Regions from separate parts of the Homo sapiens genome. Here all the other regions are linked to region 1. Evidence: promoter capture Hi-C in 16 types of primary human blood cells and fetal thymus (Javierre and others, 2016). All regions are on one chromosome and are shown on one strand. The core of a region is centred on a gene start or on the middle of the fragment in contact, and the rest is flanking DNA. Distances in the headings are between cores, read along the strand shown. Region 1 holds the start of SIX3 (SIX homeobox 3). Region 2 overlaps CAMKMT (calmodulin-lysine N-methyltransferase). Region 3 overlaps CAMKMT (calmodulin-lysine N-methyltransferase). Region 4 overlaps CAMKMT (calmodulin-lysine N-methyltransferase). Region 5 overlaps CAMKMT (calmodulin-lysine N-methyltransferase).

Region 1 (2,549 bases), core at 28-2,527:
ATTACAGCTTCTTAAAAGCAACATACCTAAGAATAAATACCCATGCCTGGCCTAGGGGCTGTGGTGGCCAGAGGCAGAGAGGGCCCTCTGTGTTCTATGGGCCTTTTGGCGTCTGTTTTAGGCTTTCGATGTTACTTTCCCTAGAGAAATTAGACAGTTTAAAAATAATAATGGTAATTATTATTATTTTACAATACGAGCAAACAAGCAATTTTCAGGCCTTATTCACTTCATCCGGGTGGCTGGCCTCCAAAGTTTGAGTGCCCTCTGGGGCTGGCAGGCAGGACCAGAGCTCCTTCTGTTGTGTGGTGAGGAGTGGGCATCTGTAGGACTTTTCTGGGTCCAGAGGGCTCTTGGGCTTCTCGGCTCCCGCAGCTCCTCCACCACTCCTCAGAGAGGCAGCTGAATTCTGGGAAGAAACAAAGAGTTGAGTTGCTTCTTAAGATGGAAAGAAGTGTACTGTTTGGACTGTTATTTTAAAATACAGGGTGGTGGGGGAAATCGAGGCTCCTTGGCCGGGGAGGGAGTAAAGAGAAGCCTAATTGATGAAGAGGGAGTTGAGGTGAATGCGGTCCATGGGCACCGATGGGGGAGGCAAGAGCGGCCTCCAGCACCCTGGGAATTGGGCTCAGGCTCCCTGGCGCCAGATACCCTCGGAATCCGGGATCCCCGGCTGGCGCCACGGCCCGCTGGGCCAAGGTCGGTGCTTGGTGGGCCCCATGATCTCATCTCTCCTTTCTTCCTTGCCACTATTAGTGCTCACATAGGCAGAAAGAGGCGGCCCGACGTGCAAACCATGTGCAAACCGCGCCCGCTGGGCTGGTCAGCCGTCTTTCCTTGCCTGCCGACCTGGACTATGTGGAGCCTGGGGGACCCTCTTGCCTCCCAACAAAATCCCCTCTCTAATTGCACATCCCATTCAACAACTCTGCCCAGGGCTTTTCGAATTTCTGGATCAACTTCTTTAGGAAAAAGGGAAGAAGAAGTCTCAGAGACAGCGGTAGAGAAAAGAGGAGAGAGAGGGAGAAGAGAGAAGAGAGGAGGGGGAGGTAGCGAGATTAAGAGTTGCAAAGATAAAAAAAATTCTCTTTATCCCCCCACTTCTCCCTCCTTCCCTGCTCTCCCCCTCCCCCCGCCCTCTGGCTAAGTGGTAAAACCGTCCTTACGTTCTCGGTATTGATTGGCAGGGCTGACAGTGATTGGCAGTGGTTGCCGTGGCAACGCCACAACGACACGCCACAGACCAATAGAAAAGCGAAACAAAATGTTTCAATGCTGCACTCACTGTGGATTTAGGGGAGATATTATGAGGCTGTTGTCATTAGGGCGATTGCGGTGGAATCGCTGAATCTTGACTCGGCGGTGGTTGGCTCTCCCTCTCCTCTCTCCCTCTCCCTCTCCCTCTCTGTCTCGGGTTCTCTCTCTGCGCGCGCGCACCGGGCCGCTCTCCTACCTCCCTCTCTATGTGGCTGCGCGGGTGTGTGTGTGTGTGGATGTGTGTGGGGTGTGGGTGTCCCTTACGCCCTTCCTCCTCTCCCTCCTCCTCCTGCTCCCCCCTCCTTTCCTTCTCCTCCTCCCCCCTCTCCTCTCCCTCCTCCTGGTCCTCATCGCCCCTCTCCTCCTCTTCCTCCCCTCTCTCTTCCTCTCCCTGAATTTTCTCCTCTCCTCTCAGGTCAGTCCATGGTATTCCGCTCCCCCCTAGACCTCTATTCCTCCCACTTCTTGTTGCCAAACTTCGCCGATTCTCACCACCGCTCCATACTTCTGGCGAGTAGCGGCGGCGGGAACGGTGCGGGAGGCGGCGGCGGCGCGGGAGGCGGCAGCGGCGGCGGGAACGGTGCGGGAGGCGGCGGTGCTGGCGGAGCAGGCGGCGGCGGCGGCGGCGGCTCCAGGGCCCCCCCGGAAGAGTTGTCCATGTTCCAGCTGCCCACCCTCAACTTCTCGCCGGAGCAGGTGGCCAGCGTCTGTGAGACGCTGGAGGAGACGGGCGACATCGAGCGGCTGGGCCGCTTCCTCTGGTCGCTGCCCGTGGCCCCCGGGGCGTGCGAGGCCATCAACAAACACGAGTCGATCCTGCGCGCGCGCGCCGTGGTCGCCTTCCACACGGGCAACTTCCGCGACCTCTACCACATCCTTGAGAACCACAAGTTCACCAAGGAGTCTCACGGCAAGCTGCAGGCCATGTGGCTCGAGGCGCACTACCAGGAGGCCGAGAAGCTGCGCGGCCGCCCACTCGGCCCGGTGGACAAGTACCGCGTGCGCAAGAAGTTCCCGCTGCCACGCACCATCTGGGACGGCGAGCAGAAGACGCATTGCTTCAAGGAGCGGACTCGGAGCCTGTTGCGGGAGTGGTACCTACAGGACCCCTACCCCAACCCCAGCAAGAAACGCGAACTGGCGCAGGCCACCGGCCTCACTCCCACACAAGTAGGCAACTGGTTTAAGAACCGGCGGCAGCGCGACCGCGCCGCGGCGGCCAAGAACAGGTTAGTGGCGGGGCCCGCGGCCTGGCTACAGCCTCAGAGGCCTGGGAAGGGGAGAGGGGTTGA
Region 2 (2,549 bases), core at 18-2,517, 510 kb before region 1:
AGAATTTTGGGGGGAAATTATGACTTCTTGATACTTTCAATGGGCTTTCGGCTATGAATGTTTGAGATTCTCATGGTGCTGCATTAAGTCAAAGTATTCCATGTAAAACAGTGGTACTCTTGGTGGAAGCTAAAGAATAACCTGCCTTGTAGTCTCTGATGTTTCAAAAGAATCTGCCCAAACATATGATCTCCATCAACTGTAAAGTTAGGGCCTGGAATCACACCTTTCATTTTCTTTTTGTCTCCTTTAGCAGCCCTGAAGAGTTTTCACCAAATTGCAAACTGGAGTCAGGTAATAATGTTTGTTTCTGAGCTTTCAGAGGAAGCTGTTTATTTTAGTAGGCAATTTTCATGTGTGATGAAGTGAAATGTTGAGAAGGCAGCCTCTCATCAGTGGACAAACAATGCCTAAGAATTTAGCTAATGGCCCCCCTTCAGTGCAGAGAATAGATGGTAACAATTGGACTTGCATACTAGACCCAGAGCTACTTGTTTGGCTGCTAGGTGTTAATGCAAATTTGTTCTTCAGCTCATTCAACCCTGGGGCTCCCATCCTTTGATTTAATTAAATGTAATTGGTTACATTGCTCCTCCCAGGCCCCCGAGGTGTTTTTGTTTATTGCTTACTCTTTGCAATAAAACTTCAATTCATGGCACAAAATGCTGGATAAATAAGAGTCTTTTTTTCCTGTGTTGGATTTGTTGGGAGATTATTTCTTTCAAATAGTTTGGCTTTACTGTTAAAAGTAAATGACCAGTGAAATAAACTCATTGGGTGGCAAATGTAGCATATCCAGAAGCAAGGAATTAAGTAGGGTAAATTACATGAGATTAGGAAAAGATAGGAAGTTGTAATGTTAAATTAGTAAAGATTTGCAAAAGTACTATAAGAGCTATCAACACTGTAAACAAAGCTTTAATAAGTGAGATTATCATTTTTGTAGCACGTTATTAAAAAGTTACTTTAAAATTTCAGTTATGAAATACTCAATTTATTTTGTAATCATACATAATTCTCTTACAAATATGCAGGTGGCATTGATTCAGGATAAAAGTGAGAATAATATTGATTTAAATTAGGTCAGCACAATTAACCTATTCTTTTTAATGAGAGATATTTTCCCTCTGAAGTAAGTATATATATTTTTTCTACCTGAAGATATTATAAATAACATTTTTTGGTAAACTGATACTTTTTTTTCCCCTTTCAAGTTTTAATCTTAATTTGAGAAGTGGGGTAAATTAACTTTGTATTAACTTCTGAGGAATAACTCAGAAACTTAGGAAAATTGAGAAAATATTATTAGCACTTCCCAATTCAATTTTAAGTACCAAATTGTATAAATGACTTTTTTCCCTTTTTGTTACTGTCAATGGGATAAAATGGCCTCCAGAAGCTGCCATTTATTATAGTGCTAACTGGTTAGTTCCTTTGTTGCTTTCTTCTTTCCCTGGTCTTTATTTTTCCCTTTTTTACTGTAGAGGTAACATCAGTGACATTTTCATTAGTGCAATAGACTTTCTAAATCTTGCTGTGTCACAGGCCTAACTCATATCTCTTCTGATGGAAAAAATGAAAAATCTGTGATAAGAACCTAGGTATTCCCAGTGCAATATGAAGCTTCAGTTTCCCACAATAGGATTGTTTTGCAGAAATTTTTTTCTAGGCTCCTCTCACATTCTATTGTTGAGATACTGGGGTTTTAGGCTTATCATCTTGTGCTGTCGGGTTAGGCCTTTCTTCTGGTGGATGCCCCTGATGAAAACCAAGTGGTAATAGACAACTAGAAAACACTCCCATTGGGAAATGGGGAACTAGTCTAAGATGTTAGCTCAATTGTAAGTGTTCAGAGAAGAAATCAAGTACCCAATTTACTTCCTGGAAATGAGCTGTTAAAAAGGCTGTGCTTCACTTTCAGAGCAAGCTTTGTTCAGCTCCTACCAGCTCAGGTATAGGCAGAAAACCCAACTGTGGTCCTGGGTCCAAAAATCTTGGATGGAAATTACAGGCTTTCTTGACAGCAAGGCCAGGATGATTTAACTTCTTGGCTGGTTTAGTCGCATCTTAAAATAACTCTTGCCCCACATACAGAGAAATAAGAATGTTTAAAATATTATAATGTAGTGGTTACTGAGGGTTTCCTTTGTAAATGAATGTAATGTCATAGACAAAAGGGAGAGAAATGTTCCAGTGGTCTTTTAGATAAAACCAGATACTCCTGTACTTGAGTAATTTTCCTCCCTGCACACGGGTAATAATAAGCCCATTGCCCATCCCCTGACTCTCCTGTGACTCTCCTGAATCCACAGCTTTGATTGGAAACTCTCAACCCCTGACCAGCCTTGGGAGCACTGATTACGAAGGCACCCCACATACTTCCTTCATAAACATTTGGCAGATCAGGAAGTGCTGAAAAGCAATGCCCCTGGGTCTCAGAAGAGAATACTGGTGGGAGAAGAAATAGAACATTTTCCCTCTTGCAGCTGTCAAAGAGTGATTATGTCAAATGGGTTTTCAAGGAGCCACGAAGTAATTACAGGGTAACT
Region 3 (2,549 bases), core at 29-2,528, 490 kb before region 1:
TAAAGACTAGTGAAAAAATTTTACAAATGATTAACCTAGTTCTTGCATTCATTAGGTATATTTACAAGTCATCTGTGATCAGTTTAGTTACCATCCCTTTGATATCCTGCAGCCATTATTGGATGCCTTTGGGGTTGTGATATCATGCTGGGGAAGAATGGTTCGGCTGCAGGTTTTATGTGTCTTTTTATAGTTGTTCACAATATCCCATGCTAAATTATATGGTGAATTATTATACATTTGCTAGTTTAAAAGATGTCTAATTGATTTACTATGCTAAAATATCAAAGACTATATGCTGCAGGAGTGATGCTTCCAGTTAACAACTTATCATGTATTCATGGAGACGACAATGCTTGCTCACATATTGGCACTATTGTCTAATTTGGTGTGCCTTGTGTTGTAATTCAATCATCTATTATTAAAAGTAGATGTGGCTGTAGGGAGCAAAACCACATACAAATCCATAAACATACATATGTGCATATTTACTTATACTCACATATATGTTCAATAAGGTTTTTGTTTTACCTGCTATTAATGTTTGTACTAGTGAGTCATAAATGGAAAATATCTATTAGCTCTAAGGTAAAATAAAATAGGTTTTGATTTAGTTCAAGTGAACCATCTCATTTAAAATTAGCCCAGGGGTCTTGTAAAGAATGCAAGTAATCTAAACATAATAATGCACATTGCCCAATTGCTTCTGTGTATGATACAGGTTCAGTGCTGTAGTGCTTTGACAGCCCATTACTGAATGTAATGAACAGCTATTTTTAAACAGAAGAAATTCAAGTTGACAGCTTGGCAATGAAATTCAGCTAGTGGGATAATTTTTGTCATCTTTAGTATAGAGAATGGATTCAGTTTGGTTTAAGCAAATTTGTATCATGTAGTTTATAGCGCAAACATTTTTATTAAAAGATAATTTTATTGTCCATTTTGTGGAGAGGGGCAGATGTTACTGTTAAGAATATGTAATCAGCTTTTAATGAATACTTTAATGAATTACTGAAACATCATTTCTAGAACCTAGGTTTAAAATGAAATTTCTCATTTTTCTTTCCTGCCATGGGTGAAATAGTCTAATAAAACGACTATAAGATTAAGAGGTGTTTTTCTATGCTGCTTTTTAGTCTTTCAGAGTTTAAAACAAGTAGTTTTAAGAAATAAGATAGTCTTTGGAAATGGATATAAAGCTTGAGGCAGTGTTGTCTTAATGGAAGTAAGAATTAGACAAAATACCATTGAGAGAGAGAAGGAAAATGTCTGCCTGACTATATTTTAGAGAAATTCTTTTACTAAGAATAAGGAGACGGTAACATCTGATTTTGACAACTCTTAAAAAATAAGTTGGAGAAGCTTCGTCTGCAATTCTTAAATAAAACATATATTTTTAACTCATACTATGAAAAATAATAGGGTAAGTCAGAGTGAGTTATTTCATTCTCTTCTGTTTACAGCAGAAATTGTTTGAGAATTCTAATTGCTATTTTTTCTAAGTTGAGCTAATTGCCAGAGCTTTTAAAATAGAGACTTCAGGTTCAACGTTGTGCATTGTGTTAAATGTGGCTTGAAAAATACATTACTCAACGAAATCTGGGTGAACAAAGTAAGTAAACTGAGTACTTTACCCAATATCCAATAATGTTTCTGACCCTACCAGTAAAATAAACTAAATATATAGCAGTGGTGAAAATTTTAAAATTGTCAGAAATCCCCCTCTAAATGCATTGCCAGAAAGCTTTGTTCATGGGTCTTCATTACCCCTTCATGCTTCCAGGGCACCTCCTCTGGGTTCCCAAGGCACTGGGAACTTAAAAGTTAGCTTTGCTTAGTAACTATGCCTTGAAGTAGGATAATAAAACAAATCATTTTTAATAGTCAGTAGATTTTTTTTCCATTTCTGATCTGTTTCTCTATTTTACTTATCTCTTGGACGGCATAATGGCCCCAAACCTAATATAGCAATGAATCTGTGTAGAAGTCAAGCATTTTTGGAGAGGCTTTCATGTTAGGTCACTACTGTACTCTTTAGAATTGTATTGTATCAGTGAATCAAAAGAATTTCTTGACATGAAAGAATTGGTACACATCTATAAACATTTTATTTAAACCTAGAGAGGATATTATTTATCTAACAGAATCCAGCTTACTTCTAGCAACAGTACCATCAGTTTGTAGCCTGGTCTTTGAACTCTTGATTTTGTTGTGAAGTGACCCTCTTGAAATCTTAATTTACCCATGGATAGAGGACGTTGTATGAGGCAGAAGGGCATCATCACATTAGCCCTGCTTCTCTATGGCATCATGAGATGCTAAGATAAGCACTTGAAAGGTATTTTAACTTTCTTGATCTCAGAATAACTTGAGAAGAAATTCATGGTACCCACATACTGGGTTAACAAAATAATTAGTCGCATTTGGTTATTTGTGAGGAGGAAACTGTGAAACGTGAAAGTAGGACTGGGGATTCCAGGACGAAGCCTAGAGATAGATTTTTTTTAGAAGGAGGCTTATCTCTGAAGATGGGCAGGATGAAAGAAGTC
Region 4 (2,549 bases), core at 32-2,531, 450 kb before region 1:
ATCCTAAAAAAGTTATGACTTTAGAACTAAAGTCACCTGTGCCAGGTACCTGAGGCCTCAGAAACAAATATCTGCCTATATACTGTATATTTGAAAACAAAGTAGCAAAACTTTTTGTTTTTAAGTTTTAGTTCTGGACTTCTACTCCTGCAGCCCGTTAGAAATCATTCTGTCTTTCTCTGTCTCTCTCAAGTCTAAACAACCCCAGAGGATGTACTGTTGTTTTTATTTGTTTTATAAAGTGCTAATCAAACTATTGATGGTTTAAAAAATTATTTGATAATAATGATTTTGCTTTTTGTTTTTATTCTTCTTCATGAGATGTGTTTTTCCCAGGGCAAGTTGATAAAGACATTTTTGACCACCTGATTTTTGCCTGTTGCCATTGACTTTTCCTTTTTGAAGTGTGACTAAACTTTGAGAGCTCCTTCTTTGGTAATTTATAGAAGAAAAAGCCTTGGAAAAAATATTTGTACTTGATTTTAAGGGGTAACAAAATTTCTTTGTTGTTTGTTTTTTGGAATTGTGTTAAAGAAAATTACGAAATTGTAATGACTAAGTGCATATTTTTGAAGGGTTTTACTTTGTTTATTTCCTTCATCAAAAAAATAAGCAAACCAGTAACTGTTAACCCTAATTTATTTTTACTCTTCAAGTGACATTACTTTTAACTGGCTACATTTGGATAATAAAAGCCATGGATTTTAAACCACTTAGTAATTTGGTTTCATTTTTAACACAAATAACACCTTTTCATCCATTTTATATAAACTTCAAACAACATATGTTTTAACTTACTGCCAAATAAGAAGAAATGTGTTACATTAAAGTGCATGTTGTTTGCCTGTGCATTTGGAAATACCATTCATTTTATAGCAATTTTGAGTTATTTTTCTGTCACTTTGTATTCCTATTCAAAGAGACATACAGAAACCCTCGCTCAAAACAACTCCCTTAGGGTTTACTCTTGGATGTCAGTAGACATGAACGGGAGGTACTGTATACAACAAGCTTAGGTGATGGAAATGTCAACTCTTGTTGACTTGCATTTATTATTATCCTTTGAATTGTGTCCTCTTGAGATTTTGTGAGTGGTATTTTAATATATTTCTTTTATGTTTGAGGTGGGCAAAAGAGAGAGACCACCTCACTTTTTTTCCCCCCTCTTCCCTCTGTTTACGTACAAAAATGAGATACTCTCATTCTCTAGAATTTGATCCAAATTTTAAAACTGTTGCTAAGGGATAATGGTCATGCAGAATGTGAAATGTTAATAACATAAAACACTAGGACATAAAAATGGAAACATTTTCAGTGCTAACATGCAATTCAAAGTGTTGGATTGTTTTTAAATTAATGAGAAAGTATTTTTAAAGCCCTTTTTCTTTAGGATCTTAAATTGTACCAAGAGAACATGGATTCTTTTAAAGAACACAGGTTAGAGTTAGTTAAAACCTACCAATTAGTATAGGAAAGAGAGACTCCATTATGACAGATAAGGTTTAGATAGAATTATTATTAGTAAATTAGAAAATTTAAAAACATCCCCAGGAAGCTTTCTCTGACCTCTCACCTCCTGCCCTTGTTGGGTTAGGTGCCTGCCACTCTGTGAAGCTCAAGTAATCAGAGCACTGTGCTTAGCACATCCTCACTAGTCTGTGAGCTCTTTCAAGGCAGGTACTGTATCTTATTTGGCTTAGTTTTTTCATCCATCTCACACAGTAGTTGCTCAGGAAGTATCTGTTGAATGAACGTGAGATGTAGAGTGATGATGGATAGACCCTAATTATGTCCACATCCATGTAATAAAATAAGCAGTATATTTAGGTTTGAGAATAATCTCACTACTTTTTTAAAGAAATAAATGCCTCTGCAATCTTTCTAAAAATAATTGATTTTTATTTTTAGCCAGGTTCTTGCTCTGTCACCCAGGCTAGAATGGTAGTAGTGTGATCATAGGTCACTGCAGCCTTGAACTCCTAAGCTTAAGCAATCCTCCTGCCTACGCCTCCTGAGTAGCCTGGACTACAGGTGCATGCCACCTGCCCAGCTAATTTTTTAAATTTTTTTGGTAGCGGTCAGGATCTTGCTATGGTGCCCAGGCTGGTCTTGAACTCCTGGCCTCAAGCAATCCTCCTGCCTTGGTCTACCAAAGTGCTGGAATTAAAGATGTGAGCCACCGTGCACAGCCAAGAATTGATATTTATTTTGAGGACTGACTAGAAGTTTTAAAATTAAAAAGAAAATTCATTGCAGTTTTGTAATATGTGAAAAAAATCATGAAAATATATTGTTAAAAATGTCATCACAATTCTGGTAATCTAACTTTGGGTTTCTAAAAGCTTTTGTAGTGTTAATGTTAATACTGCCCTTTATTGTAGGCCAAGGATGTCAATTGGAAGCAATTCTTACTACTGGTTGTTGGCAAGTTGCATGAGCAAGGCAGATTTGGACCCAGCCTGAAATCTCTAGTCAGCTCCATTCTTTAGCAGCTGTCACAGTGTAGTTCCAGCAGTGGTGTGTACCTTTCTTGTTCCACATTATGAGCC
Region 5 (2,549 bases), core at 19-2,518, 430 kb before region 1:
GAAGTTGGGTAGTCCTGTGTAGACCACTCACTTATTTCTACCAGGCCAAGAGGCAAATAAAGCTGACCTGATATACTTTTGTGTCTTAATCTCTATGTTTTAACTCTAAGGGGTGGGAGAAGCCAGTGGCTAGGGAAAGACAGAGGTTTTAGGATTAACATCACAATATTAGCTACAGAGATTTTACCTAGAAGTAACTGGAGCCTCATTTGTGTTTTGAATTTCCATAAGGGAGGGTTTGATATACTGCCAGATCAGTACTGGCTTTGGTGTCTGAAAGCTTTTTGGGAGAGTGGCTCTGGTCACTAGTAGAGGCTTTTCAGTGGGACTGGGAGGAGTTAGGTAGAACTTTGGATTTGGGTATAAAGGGACTTGTAAAACTCAGTCAAAATGCTTACAATCTGGCAAAGGTAGCTCTTCAGGCTCTGGTAAGGGATATCTATAATCTCTGTGGAATATCTTAGAACACATGGGATTAGGGGAGTTACATGATCAATGGAATAGGCAATTCATTCACCTGTCAGTCACAGAGATCTTACTTCTAGGGAAAATCTGAAATTGGAGGACTTACTCTGTTACATGAATCAAAGATATGACCTTGAAAAATGGGAGTAACCATGGCACCAGTGAGTGAGTCAGTGATTTGGGAGGGGAAACTGGTTTGGGAAGAAGGATTATCATTTCGGTTTTAGAAATTCTGAGTTTAAAGCTACAGCACATGTTGAAATTTGTAGTAGACAGCTGGGAGGAACTAATGGAAGCTTAGGTGAGAAGACAAGTTAGGGGTTGTTAGCTCTGTCTTCTTCTTTGTCCAACTCCTCTGAGAAAGCAGAAAGTAAAGATGCCAGCTTTAGTCTGTGGCTACTTAGTTTTTAGGCCCTTTACCTATTTTTAGTCTAAGACATTGCTGGGATACATCAAATGGGGAGAGCACAAGCAGTTGCATCTATTTATGAGAAAGAACAAGTCTAAAGAATGAGAGTCACGGAGAAGCAATTTTCTTTGCATTTTATTTTTATTTTTATTTTTTGAGAACTTCTCATTATTACCAAGCTTCTGTCAGGAAATATGTACTAGAAGCCAAACAAAATTATTTCATTGCTTACGGTGAAATGTACCAGGGGTGCTGATGGGCAAAAAAGAGCGCCTCATATGAAACACCAAATGTTCCAGTAATCCTGTTCCAAACCATGCCCGTTTACTTAAAATTTCTTTCACAGTTCACGTTAGACTCATGCAGTAAATAAATTAAGTACCTTTCCCACTGCGAGTTTTTTAGAAACACTTAATGAAGTAAATGCCACAGTGTTAGGCCAGGGGGAAGCCATGCAGTTAAATTATTTTTAGCATGCATTTTCTAGTTTAATTTTTGTTGGTTTCTTTTGATCTGGGCTTGAGTCTTAGCCAGATAGTGTGATTCAGGGGACAGAGGACATGGATGAAAGAGAGGTTTGTCTTTACTGCCTAGTGAATATAACTAAGGGAAGCTTCTTTTTTTTCCCAAATGTTAAAAAATTTTGTCCCTCTCTAAATATATTTAGGATTGCCTCTCTAAATATCAAAATAATTCTATTTGGGATAGCTATAAAGAGATATACTATTAACTCATTACCCTTGAATATTTAGAAAAGCTCTGTATGTTTAATTTTAATTATATGGCCTTTCAATAAAAGTATTATATATGCTATTTTTAAAATACTTAAAAACATAAGATTATTTTAAATATAGTTTAATCTTTCTAATTAAGGATGTTTCTTGAGATTTTTTTTTTTTTTTTTTTTGAGACGGAGTCTCACTCTGTCACCCAGGTTGGAGTACAATGGCACAATCTCAGCTCATTGCAACACCCGCCTCCTGGTTTCAAGCGATTCTCCTGCCTCAGCCTCCCGAGTAGCAGGGATTACAGGCATGTGCCACCACGCCCAGCTAATTTTTGTACTTTTAGTGGAGATGGGGTTTCACCATGTTGGTCAGGCTGGATTCAAACTCCTGACCTCAAATGATCCACCTGTCTCAGCCTCCCAAAGTGCTGGGATTACAGGCATGAGCCACCCTGCCCGGCCTTGTGGTTTTGAAGAGCTTGAATCATCATTTTGAGAATTAAATGATTATTATATTATAAATGTGCATAAGTGTTTGTTAATGAAATTTCTGATTAATATTTCCTTTTAAAAAAACAGGAACTATAACCACATTCTTTTAATAGCTAAAAGCATTTGTTAAAGTGACCAAAAATAATTGTTTCAAAAATTTTTTTTTGAATGAAGACAACGCAAAAATGTATCAGAGAAGATACACTGTGTCTGGAAACAATCTGTGTCTAGAAAGAAGTCTTCAATTTTGATTAATATGTTTTATGAGCAACTTAAGAATTAATGCAATATGTTAGGTAAAATACAGCAATAATTTTTCATTGCTAAATTGTTCAGCAGACTCTCCTAATTTTCAAGGGGTGTGCTGTTGTGAGTATGGGATTTTATTCTGAAGGAACAAAAACCAAAGTCAAAAAGATGGTTTCCTTTTTGCACAGAACTCTCTAATACCTCTGT

What was found. Contacts are between HindIII fragments. The CHiCAGO score rates a contact against its expected background, and 5 or more counts as called.
Region 2: a fragment that was not itself captured here is called in contact with the fragment with the promoter of SIX3 in region 1 in 1 of 17 cell types (total B cells); the score reaches 5.1 in total B cells.
Region 3: a fragment that was not itself captured here is called in contact with the fragment with the promoter of SIX3 in region 1 in 1 of 17 cell types (total B cells); the score reaches 5.3 in total B cells.
Region 4: a fragment that was not itself captured here is called in contact with the fragment with the promoter of SIX3 in region 1 in 3 of 17 cell types (total B cells, naive B cells and M1 macrophages); the score reaches 6.9 in total B cells.
Region 5: a contact is called between a fragment that was not itself captured here and the fragment with the promoter of SIX3 in region 1, in 1 of 17 cell types (naive B cells). The highest score is 6.5, in naive B cells.

What each region holds. Positions count from the first base shown.
Region 1 is chr2:44,940,425-44,942,973 of GRCh38, forward strand. SIX3 (SIX homeobox 3) reads left to right here and starts at 1,278. Exons shown (of 2, transcript NM_005413.4): 1 at 1,278-2,486. The coding sequence starts at 1,681. SIX3-AS1 (SIX3 antisense RNA 1) reads right to left here and starts at 1,454. Exons shown (of 2, transcript NR_103786.1): 1 at 1,286-1,454; 2 at 1-409. RefSeq lists enhancers at 712-1,238, 2,321-2,549. The HindIII fragment of the contact is 26,724 bases long and covers 1-2,549 here.
Region 2 is chr2:44,430,028-44,432,576 of GRCh38, forward strand. All of the region lies in intron 3 of CAMKMT (calmodulin-lysine N-methyltransferase), which reads left to right. Among named protein-coding and RNA genes, the nearest start is that of CAMKMT, 69 kb to the left of the region's middle. The HindIII fragment of the contact is 707 bases long and covers 915-1,621 here.
Region 3 is chr2:44,452,749-44,455,297 of GRCh38, forward strand. All of the region lies in intron 3 of CAMKMT (calmodulin-lysine N-methyltransferase), which reads left to right. It overlaps LOC124905999 (a long non-coding RNA gene), which reads left to right. Exons shown (of 2, transcript XR_007086303.1): 2 at 1-2,549. Among named protein-coding and RNA genes, the nearest start is that of CAMKMT, 92 kb to the left of the region's middle. The HindIII fragment of the contact is 163 bases long and covers 1,198-1,360 here.
Region 4 is chr2:44,493,253-44,495,801 of GRCh38, forward strand. The region is part of intron 3 of CAMKMT (calmodulin-lysine N-methyltransferase); the gene reads left to right. It overlaps LOC124907758 (a long non-coding RNA gene), which reads left to right. Exons shown (of 2, transcript XR_007086302.1): 2 at 322-712. Among named protein-coding and RNA genes, the nearest start is that of CAMKMT, 130 kb to the left of the region's middle. The HindIII fragment of the contact is 544 bases long and covers 1,010-1,553 here.
Region 5 is chr2:44,514,979-44,517,527 of GRCh38, forward strand. All of the region lies in intron 3 of CAMKMT (calmodulin-lysine N-methyltransferase), which reads left to right. Among named protein-coding and RNA genes, the nearest start is that of CAMKMT, 150 kb to the left of the region's middle. The HindIII fragment of the contact is 434 bases long and covers 1,052-1,485 here.